3 separate regions of the Homo sapiens genome follow, and regions 1 and 2 are each linked to region 3. Evidence: promoter capture Hi-C in human tissues and cell types (Jung and others, 2019). All regions are on one chromosome and are shown on one strand. Each heading gives the region's core, a stretch centred on a gene start or on the middle of the fragment in contact. The rest is flanking DNA. Distances are from core to core; before and after follow the strand shown. Region 1 has its middle 35 kb from the start of MSH6. Region 2 has its middle 71 kb from the start of MSH6. Region 3 holds the start of MSH2 (mutS homolog 2).

Region 1 (3,640 bases), core at 743-3,242, 350 kb after region 3:
ATAGTGAGTGAGTTATCATCAGATCTGGTTGTTAAAAGTTTGTAGCAACCCCCACCCTTCCTACTCCAGCCATGCAAGATGTGCCTGCTTCCCCTTCACCTTCCACCATGATTGTAAGTTTCCTGAGGCCTCTGAAGAAGCAGAAGTTGCTATGCTTCCTGCACAGCCTGCAGAACCATGAGCCAATTAAACCTCTTTTCTTTATAAATTACCTAGTCTCAGGTATTTCTTTATAGCCCATAATGGACTAATTGGTACTGAGGAGTAGGTCATTGCTATAAAGACACCTGAAAATGCAGAAGCAGCTTTGGAACTGGGTAACAAACAGGGGTTGGAACAGTTTTGAGGGCTCAGAAGAAGACAGGAAGATGAGGGAAAATTTGGAACTTCCTAGAGACTTGTTAAATTGTTGTGACCAAAATGCTTATAGTGATATGGACAATGAAGTCCAGGCTTAGGAGGTCTCAGATGGAAATGAGGAACTTTTTGGTAACTGGAGCAAAGGTCACTTTTGTTATGCCTTAGCAAAGAACTTGGAGGCATTGTGCCCCTGCCCTAGGGATCTATGGAACTTTGAACTTGAGAATGATGACTTAGGGTATCTGGTGAAAAAAATTTATAAGCAGCAAAGTGTTCAAGAGGTAGCCTGGCTGCTTCTAACCACTGATTCCCATATGCATGAGTAAAGAAATGATGTAAACCTGAAACTTATATTGAAAAGGGAAGCAGGATGGGCACAGTGGCTCATGCGTGTAATCCTAGAATTTTGGGAGGCCAAGGCAGACAGATCACTTGAGCCCAGGAGTTCAAGACTAGCCTGGGCAACATGGACAAACCCTGTCTCTATAAAATAAATAAATAAATAAGTAGCCAGGTGTGGTGGCACACGCCTATAGTCTCTGCCACTCAGAAGGCTGAGCCCAGGAGGTCAAGGCTGTGCAAGGCAATGATTGTGCCACTGCACTCTAGCCTGAGTGACAGAGACCCTGTCTCAAAACTAAATAAATAAAAAGTAAAAGGGAAGCAAAGCATAAAAGCTTGAAAAATTTGGAGCCTGGCCATGTGGTAGAAAAGAAAAGCCCACTGGCCAGGTGTGGTGGCTCACGCCTGTAATCCCAGCACTTTGGGAGGCCAAGGCAGGGAGATCATGAGGTCAGGAGTTCGAGACCAGCCTGGCCAACATGATGAAACCCCGTCTCTACTAAAAATACAAAAATTAGCTGGGTGTGGTGGCACATGCCTATAATCCCAGCTCCTCAAGAGGCTGAGGCAGGAGAATCATTTGAACCGAGGAGGTGAAGATTGCAGTGAGCCAAGGTCGTGCCATTGCACTCCAGCCTGGGTGACAGTGAGAGACTCCAACTCAAAAAAAAAGAAAAGAAAAGAAAAGGAAAGAAAAGCCCACCTTCGGGGAGCAATTAAAGCCAGCTGCATAAATTTTGCGTAACTAAAAAGAAGGTAAATGCTAATAGTGAAGACAATGGGGAAAGGGCCTTGAAGACATTTCACAGACATTCACCACAGCCCTTTTCATCAGAGGTCTGGAGACTTAGAAGGGAAGAATGGTTTCCTGGGCCAGGCCCAGGGCCCCATCACTCTGCACAGCCTCAGGACACAGCTCCCTGCATCCCAACCACTCCAGTTCCAGCCTTGGCTCAAAAGGTCCCAGGTACAGCGTGGGTTACTACTTCAGAGAGTGCAAGCCAGAAGCCTTGGTGGTTTCCACAGAGTGTTAAGCATCCAGGTGTGCAGAGTGCAAGAGCTGAGGCTTGGGAGCCTCTGCCTAGATTTCAGAGGATGTATGGAAAAGACTGGATGTCCACTCAGAAGCCTGCCACAGGGGTGGAGCCCTCATGGAGAACCACTTCTGGGGCAGTGCGGTGGGGAAATATGGGGGTTAGAGCTCCCTCACAGAGCCCCCATTGGGCACTTCCCTGTAGAGCTGTGAGAAGAGGACCAATATCCTCCAGACCCCAGAATGGTAGATCCACTGACAGCTTGCACCCTGCACTTGGAAAAGCTGCAGGCACTCAACATCAGCCCTTGAGAGCAGCCCTGGAAAGCCACAGAAGCAGGACTGCCCAAGGCTTTGGAATACCACCCCTTGCAACAGTATGCCCTGAATGTGCGACATGGAGTCAACAGAGATTATTTTGGAGCTTTAAGATTTAATGACCACCCTGCTGGATTTCAAACTTGCATGAGGCCTGTAGCCCCTTTCTTTTGACCCATTTCTCCCTTTTGGAATGGGAGCATTTATCCAATGCCTGTACCCTCATGGTATCTTGGAAGTAACTAACTTGTTTTTGATTTTATAGGCTCATAGGCAGAAGGGACTTGTCTTGTCTCAGATGAGATTTTAGACTTTGGTCTTTTGACCTAATGCTGGAATAAGTTAAGACTTTGGGGGACTGTTGGGATTACAGGTGCACACCACCACTCCCAGCTAATTTTTTTTTTTTTTTGTATTTTTAGTAGAGATGAAGTTTCACCATGTTGGCCAGGCTGGTCTTTAACTCCTGACCTCAAGTGATCCACCCGCCTCTGCCTCCCAAAGTGCTGGGATTACAGGCGTGAGCCACCATGCCCAGCCATGAACACAAGTTTCTGATAACTTTGGAGATCATATCATTGGATTAAGTTAAAACTTTCAGAATTCTAATAAACTGATGCATCATTCATGAATATTGCTAACCCAACATCAAGCAGAACAGGAATCAATTATATGGAACTGATCTGATAAAGGGATAAAATGGCTTTTATGACTTTTTATTTGAAACACTGCTGATTGCTTTTATATTTTGTTCTGCAGAATCAATAAAACTTTTGTCTTTTGAGTAATTTATAGCTTATAGACATAGAGTAAAAGATACATTTATTAGCAAAATGGAAACATTTACCTGTCTCTCTCTACCTGATTTCTCCAAAGTTTAAAAATTATTCATGAGTATTCTTATTTTATGGCAATCTAGTTATTAGCATAAGTTTAATAAGAATCTATTCTTCTTGTAAAAAAAAAAAAGAATCTGTTCTTCTTGTAACAAAGCACAGTTGGAGACACTGGTTGTTTTATTAAGGGTTTGACTGAAATATCACATTTTCAGATATGACCAGACAGCTTTAAGGAACTAGGATTGACATTAGGAAGCCAATAAACACCCTTGGAAAAACTGGCCCCATACTTTAAATTTACAGTTCACATGGTTGCCTTGAAGTAAATAAAGAATGTCACTTTCTTTTTCTGATTATTATTTTTTTGAAACAGGATCTCATTCTATCACCCAGGCTGGAGTGCAGTGGCACTCCATCATAGCTCACTGCAGCTTTGAACTCCTAGGCTCAAGCGATCCTCCCATCTTAACCTCCCAAGTACCTGGGACTACAGGCATGCACCACCATGCCCAACTAATTAAAAAAAAAATTTTTTTTTGTAGAGAAGAGGTCTCACTATGTTGCTCAGGCTGGTCTTGAACTCCTAGGCTGAAGCAATCCACGCACATTGGCCTCCCAAAATCTTGGGATTACAGGCATGAGCCACCACACCTGGCCAAGAATGTCACTTTCTGAGAGGCTCAGGAACCTCAGGATATTATGGACACCTGGAGAAAAGAGGAAATCACCCAATTTGTACATATATTAC
Region 2 (3,784 bases), core at 177-2,676, 310 kb after region 3:
GAATTTGCTCTCTTGTCTGGGGCTCAGACATCCATCTTCTCCTGCCCTTGGATAATGGAGCTCCTGGCTCTTGGGACTTACACCAGGCCCAATAGATGAGAAGCCCCATCCTTCCCCACTGTCTTTATATCCCCAAACTCCTGGCTAGTGTGCAACAGTGTGGCATGGACTACTCTATTCCTTGCTTTAACAATTGAGTTTACTGCAGAGGTGTAAAATATTCATGCTGAGAAAGGCCTGGGAAGCTTCAGTGAATGCTTCCCAGCAGTCTGGCTGTGCCAGAGGCTTGAAGTCAGGGAGAAAATGAACTGCCTCCTCCTCCTTCTGTGAAGCAGTGCTGGGAGAAGCACATAGTTCTCAAGAGAACACAGTGGCCTGAGCATGCTCTGAGCAGTGGTTCCCAAAGGAGGGTTTAGGAAAAAGCCGAGTCGGGACCCTGGGGAGAGACTGTGGCCCCTACTAGAGGGGTCTTCCGAGGCCACGTTTCTATGATGACCTGGAGAATCCAGGAGATCAGTGGGAAGGGAGCTGCCTCCAGAGGGATTCACCTGCCACCTGAACCAGAAGGAGGCAAAGATGAAGCAGTGGGGAGGCCCTTCTTGGCTGGTAAATCCTCCTGGGTCAGGCACTTGTAGGAGCAGCCCTGTGGGATGGAATTGAACTCATTACTTTTACAACATGCCAAGGACAGGGCCAGGTGCTGGAGATACAACCAAGAATAAAATGCAGCACCTGTTCTCCACAGTTAAGTTAAAAGCACAGACTCGAACAGACAAAATACAACTTGGCTTAGTAGTGGAAGAGCACACTGCACCAAACTGGTTGTCCAGCAAGAGGGGACTGAATTAATAATCTGTGATCTGTCTATACCGAGTAATACCAAGAAACTGTTGAAAAAAATAAGGCATTGCTTATTTTATGATCTGAAATGATGCACAAGAAATATGAAGTAGAAAAGCAATGGGAGCTTCCAGGTAGCTGAATTCCTAGAGGGTGGCAAGCCAGAGAGGGCGAGGAAGCTCTGCACCTCTTCCCTCATACGTGCCCTGTGCATTTCGTCATCTAAATCTTTAAGGACAAAGCAAAAAAACTGCCTGACTTCTTGGCTGACAATTTGGGCTGGATACTGGTTTCTTCCTATTATAATAATTATTGCTTTATAAATTCAGGTATATAAGGCCGGGCGCAGTGGTTCACACCCATAATCCCAGCACTTTGGGAGGCTGAGGCAGGTGGATCACTTGAGCTCAGGAGTTAGAGACCAGCCTGGCCAACATGGCAAAACCCCATCTCTACAAGAAATACAAAAATTAGCTGGGCATGGTGACACGCACCTGTAGTCCCAGCTACTTGGGAGGCTGAGGTGGGAGAATTGCTTGAGCCCAGGAGGTTGAGGTTGCACTAAGTTGAGATTGTGCCACAGCACTCCAGCCTGGGCAACACAGTGAAACCCTGTCTCAAAAAAAAAAAAAAAAAAAAATTTCAGGTATATTAAAAAAAACCTAGGCCTGATGTGGTGGCTCACGCATGTAATCCCAGCACTTTGGGAGGCTGAGCCCAAAGGCTGAGCACTTTGGGAGAATAGCTTGAGCCCAGGAGTTCAAGACCAGCCTGGGCAACATAGTGAGACCCTGTCTCTACAAAAGAAAAAATTTTTTTAATTAGCTGGGCATGGTGGTAAGCACATGTGGTCCCAGTTAGTCAGGAAGCTGAGGTGGGAGGATGGTTTGAGCCCAGGAGGTCAAGGATGTAGTGAGACATGATTGTGCCACTGTACTCCAGCCTAGGTGACAGAGCAAGACCCTATCTCAAAAAATAAATAAATACATATATATATATATATAAAATAAAAATTTTAAAATGAGAAAATCTAAAAAGCAAAGCATAAAAACAATATACACAACAGTTTCTAGGATGGAAAAGTTCACTGGGTTGCCCAGGTCAAAACTTATCTATAGCAGCCGGGCACGGTGGCTCACACCTGTAATCCCAGCACTTTGGGAGGCCAAGGCAGGCAGATCACAAGGTCAGGAGTTTGAGACCAGCCTTGCCAACATGGTGAAACCCCATCTCTACTAAAAATATAAAAATTAGCTGGGCGTGGTGGTGTGTGCCTGTAATCCCAGCTATTGGGGAGGCTGAGGCAGGAGAATGGCTTATACCCAGGAGGTGGGTGAACCAAGATCGTGCCACTGCACTCCAGCCTGGGTGAAAGAGTAAGAATCCATCTCAAAAACAAAACAAAACTAATCTACAATTGGTGGGCAAATAGGAAGCACTTGCCTCCAGGGTGCAGGTGGGCCAAGGTTAGTGGGTGGGAGTACAGAGGGAATCAAGGCATTAGGAACCAACTTAGCAGCAGGACATGTGATGCCTAGGTTGCATGGTATCCATGTTAGGAGGGTCATGGGGAACAACTATTTGGGGTGCAGGTGGGCCGGGGCTAGTAGATGGATACACAGAGGGAATCAGGACACCATGAGCCCACTGGCTGGCAGAGCAGCCTGAGGCCTAGGATGCATGGCATCCACTTTGGAAGGACTGCAGTGAGGTGGTTACCAGGCTGGAGCCAGCAAGCTCACTGAGGAACTTTGTGCATTGGACACGTGGTTGTCAGTCATGCAACAAGAGCAAACAAACATACGGGCAAAAATGGAAGCACTGGAGGCCAGCAGGGTGGCACACGCCTATAATCTCAGTGACTCGGGAGGCTGAAGCAGGAGGATCACTCAAGGCCAGGAGTTTGAGACCTGCCCAAACAACACAGTGGGATTCTGTCTCTAAAGTAAAAAGTAAAAAAAAGCCGGGCACGGTGGCTCATGCCTATAATCGCAGCACTTTGGGAGGCCGAGGCAGGTGTTCAAGAGGTCAGGAGTTCAAGACCAGCCTGACCAACATGATGAAACCCCATCTCTACTAAAAATACAAAATTAGCCAGATGTGGTGGCACATGCTTGTAATCCCAGCTACTCGGGAGGCTGAAGGCTGAGGCTGGAGACTCGCTGGAACCCGAGAAGCAGAGATTGCAGTGAGACAAGATCACGCCATTGCATTCCAGCCTGGGCAACAAGAGCAAAACTCCATCTCAAAAAAAAAAAAAGGTTAAAAAAAATATATAGCCAGGCATAGGGGTGCATGCCTGTAGTCCTAGCTACCAAGGAGGCTGAGGCAGGAGAATCCCTTGAGCCTAGAAGCTTAAGGTTGCAGTAAGCTATGACTGGACGACTGCACTCTAACCTGGGTGACAGAGCAAGACCCTATCTCTAAGTGAAAAAAAAAAAAAAAAAAAAAAAAGAAGCACTGGAACCAGGAGAAAGCCAATTTTTCCTACAAAGTCCCTCTAGCCTCCTCTTCTAACAAAAACTAACACTGTTGTCATTGCAAAAGAGAAATGCTTAAAAGATCCAGTTCATTATCACAGAGGCAGATTATGAAAGGTTGATTTAGCACTTAGACACAATAAATTGATACCTAAGTAGCACAGCAGTCAAGGACTTTAAAATAGCTATTATGGCTGGGCATGGTGGCTCACACCTGTAATCCCAGCACTTTGGGACGCCGAGGCCAGCTGATCGCCTGAGGTCAGGAGTTCAAGGCCAGCCTGGCCAACATAGTGAAACCCCATCTCTACCAAAAAATACAAAAATTAGCCAGGCATGGTGGCGCGCACCTGTAGTCCCAGCTACTTGGGAGGCTGAGGCACAAGAATCGCTTAAACCTGGAAGGGGGAGGTTGCAGTGAGTCCAGCCTGGGTGACAGAGTGAGACTCTGTCTCAAAAAAAGA
Region 3 (3,373 bases), core at 146-2,645:
GCCCACCACTATGCCCGGTAATTTTTGTATTTTTAGTAGAGACGGGGTTTCGCCATGTTGGCCAGGCTGGTCTCAAACTCCGGACCTCAGGTGATCCACCCGCGTTGGCCTCCCAATACGCTGGGATTACAGGCGTGAGCCACTGCGCCTGGCTGTTTGCTAACATTTTAAAATTTCAACCTTCCTCTTCCTTAACTGGTCTTCCCCTACCCCCCCTCAAGACGGGGTCTCTCGCTCTGTCGCCCCAGCTGCGGTGCAGTGGCGTGAACATAGCTGACGGCAGAAGACCTCCTGGGCTCAAACGATCCTCCTGGCTCGTGCTCCCAAAGTACTGGGATTATGGCGTGTGACACCACGCCTGGCGTCAAACGTTTGTCTTTTTATTTATTTTATTTTGTATTTTTTGAGACAGGGTTTTCAATCTGTCGCCCACGCTGGAGTGCAGTGGCACAATTTACGGCTCACCGCAGCCTCGACCTCCCGGGCTCAGGTGATCCTTTCGCCTCAGCCCTGCTAATATCTGGGATCACAGACGTGGGTTTTACCATGTTGCCCAGGATGGTGTCAATCTCCTGGGCTCAAGTGATCCGCCCACCTCGGCCTCCCAAATTGCTGGGATTACAGGCGTGAGCTACCGCGCCCTGCCACAAACGCATATCTTCTAACGTACCATTTCATTTACTTGCTATATTCATTATCTGAATTTTCTCATATTAGAATGTAAGCAGAATAAAGGCAGTGATTTTTCTTTTTACTGGCGATCCTCAGAGCCAAGAAGAGTCTGGGACATAGCAGGCCATATAAATGTTTTCGAATGAGTGAATCATCAACGAGTGGATGAAACGATAATGTGGCTAACAGGCAGCAGTAAGGAGGCTGTGTAGAATAAACCCGTAATCCCGATGTTGGCAGTTTGCTTAGAAAGAAAAAGGGAGGCAGTCGGAGAGGGGCACACGTTTTAACAAAATACTGGGAGGAGGAGGAAGGCTAGTTTTTTTTTTGTTTTCAAGTTTCCTTCTGATGTTACTCCCATGCTTCCGGGCACATTACGAGCTCAGTGCCTGCCGGAAATCTCCCACCTGGTGGCAACCTACCCTTGCATACACCCCACCCAGGGGCTTCAAGCCTTGCAGCTGAGTAAACACAGAAAGGAGCTCTACTAAGGATGCGCGTCTGCGGGTTTCCGCGCGACCTAGGCGCAGGCATGCGCAGTAGCTAAAGTCACCAGCGTGCGCGGGAAGCTGGGCCGCGTCTGCTTATGATTGGTTGCCGCGGCAGACTCCCACCCACCGAAACGCAGCCCTGGAAGCTGATTGGGTGTGGTCGCCGTGGCCGGACGCCGCTCGGGGGACGTGGGAGGGGAGGCGGGAAACAGCTTAGTGGGTGTGGGGTCGCGCATTTTCTTCAACCAGGAGGTGAGGAGGTTTCGACATGGCGGTGCAGCCGAAGGAGACGCTGCAGTTGGAGAGCGCGGCCGAGGTCGGCTTCGTGCGCTTCTTTCAGGGCATGCCGGAGAAGCCGACCACCACAGTGCGCCTTTTCGACCGGGGCGACTTCTATACGGCGCACGGCGAGGACGCGCTGCTGGCCGCCCGGGAGGTGTTCAAGACCCAGGGGGTGATCAAGTACATGGGGCCGGCAGGTGAGGGCCGGGACGGCGCGTGCTGGGGAGGGACCCGGGGCCTTGTGGCGCGGCTCCTTTCCCGCCTCAGAGAGTGGGCGGTGAGCAGCCTCTCCAGTGCGGAGGCACGGGGGCGGAACGTTGGTGCTTGTGCGGATTCCGCCGTCCCCAGGTTCTGCTTGGCTCCGGAGGGACGCCCCCCTCAGCCCTGAAACCCGTGCCTCTCCAGCCGCCCCGGATCTGAACTTGTGATCACGGAGTGTTTACGTCGTGCCAGGCATTTTAATGCATTGTTCTAGTTCATTTTCCAGCAGTCGCATTCCTCGCCTTGGCCCTACATGTAGCGCTCATTACAAACACGGCCAGAATCTCTTATTAACAAACAGCAGCCAGGAGTGAGATTTAAAATAGACTGGGGGTTTAGGAGACCCTTTTATGACACGTAATTCTGCTCCCACGACGCTCCCATTTATACCGCCGGTCCAGCTAAGGGTCTGGTAATGGAGCGCCGTTGAAGAGCAGTATGATGAAGTGGTCAGGACCAACGGACTCTGGAGCTGGGCTGCTTGGGATCAAGTCGCTGCCCCTCTGCTTATTAACGTGTGACCTTGGGCCAGTCATGGACGCTATCTGCTTCAGCTCAGCATTCAGTGCTCTCCGTCACCCGACCCCATCTATCCAGGATTATCTCTCCCTGGAAAGCTACAAACGTCTCACCCTATGTGGGCCAAATGTTCTGGATAGGCCTAGTTAACCTCTTCTCTCCCTGTTTTCTTTGCGCTTTCTTGCAGCTATGTAGTTATGCTAATGAAAAGAGCATCCTAGGGGGAGCAGAGTTGTGGATTCTAGTCCTGACTAGAGGACTAGTGCAAATGCGATACTCCTGATGAAAAATGTTTCATTCGTTAGATATAAATGTGTTAGGCAGGGTTATGGACACTAGATGAAAAAAGAAATACCTCTACTTTCATAGAGATCACTATTGGACAGCAAGGCAGAAATAATTACAATTCAAGTTGGAGGCTTATGGAGGTGAGCTTGTAAGAGGTTACAAGAGGCGCCAAGGCAGGATCGCCAAAGACGGAAGACTTTGGAAGAGTCTCATACAACGGAAGAGGCGTTATATGAGACACCAAAGTCCACGTTGAGTCTTGGTGGACTAGAAGTTTGCTAGGGAGAGGGCTTGAAACGAGGTAGATTGGCGTTGCTGGTGTAGAAAAGGAAGGAGACTGGCCCAGGTGGGTGGGGTTAGATGACCAAAGGCTTTTAGTGTGGTGTTGAGCTGTTGAAATTTTATGCTGTAGCCAATGAAAAGTCTGAAATGTTTTTTTTTTTTTTTTTTCTGAGACGGAGTCTTACTGTGTCGCCCAGGTTGGAGTTCAGTGGTGTAATCCTGGCTCACTGCAACCTCCACCTCCTGGGTTCAAGCGATTCTCCTGCCTCAGCCACCGGAGTAGCTGGGATTACAGGCACGTGCCACCACGCCTAGCTAATTTTTGTATTTTTAGTAGAGATGGGGTTTCACCATGTTGGCCAGGCTGGTCTCAAACTCCTGACCTCAAGTGATCCACCCACCTTGGCCTCCCGATGTGCTGGGATTACAGGTATTAGCCACTGCACCTGACCTACATAGATTTTACATAAGACTTTAAAACAGGGCGGGCGCAGTGACTCACGCTTGTAATCCCAGCACTTTGGGAGGCTGAGGTGGGCGGATCACAAGGTCAGGAGATCAAGACCATCCTGGCTAAC

What was found. Contacts are between HindIII fragments. The study calls those that stand out against the background at their distance.
Region 1: a fragment that was not itself captured here is called in contact with the fragment with the promoter of MSH2 in region 3 in 1 of the 25 tissues and cell types used here (dorsolateral prefrontal cortex).
Region 2: a contact is called between a fragment that was not itself captured here and the fragment with the promoter of MSH2 in region 3, in 1 of the 25 tissues and cell types used here (aorta).

What each region holds. Positions count from the first base shown.
Region 1 is chr2:47,746,581-47,750,220 of GRCh38, forward strand. No RefSeq gene overlaps it. Among named protein-coding and RNA genes, the nearest start is that of MSH6, 35 kb to the right of the region's middle. RefSeq lists a silencer at 1,566-1,719. The HindIII fragment of the contact is 4,372 bases long and covers 1-3,640 here.
Region 2 is chr2:47,710,137-47,713,920 of GRCh38, forward strand. No RefSeq gene overlaps it. Among named protein-coding and RNA genes, the nearest start is that of MSH6, 71 kb to the right of the region's middle. The HindIII fragment of the contact is 4,436 bases long and covers 1-3,644 here.
Region 3 is chr2:47,401,761-47,405,133 of GRCh38, forward strand. It overlaps MSH2 (mutS homolog 2), which reads left to right and starts at 1,396. Exons shown (of 16, transcript NM_000251.3): 1 at 1,396-1,642. The coding sequence starts at 1,432. RefSeq lists enhancers at 1,083-1,132, 1,137-1,847, 1,848-2,556, 1,923-1,982. The HindIII fragment of the contact is 21,211 bases long and covers 1-3,373 here.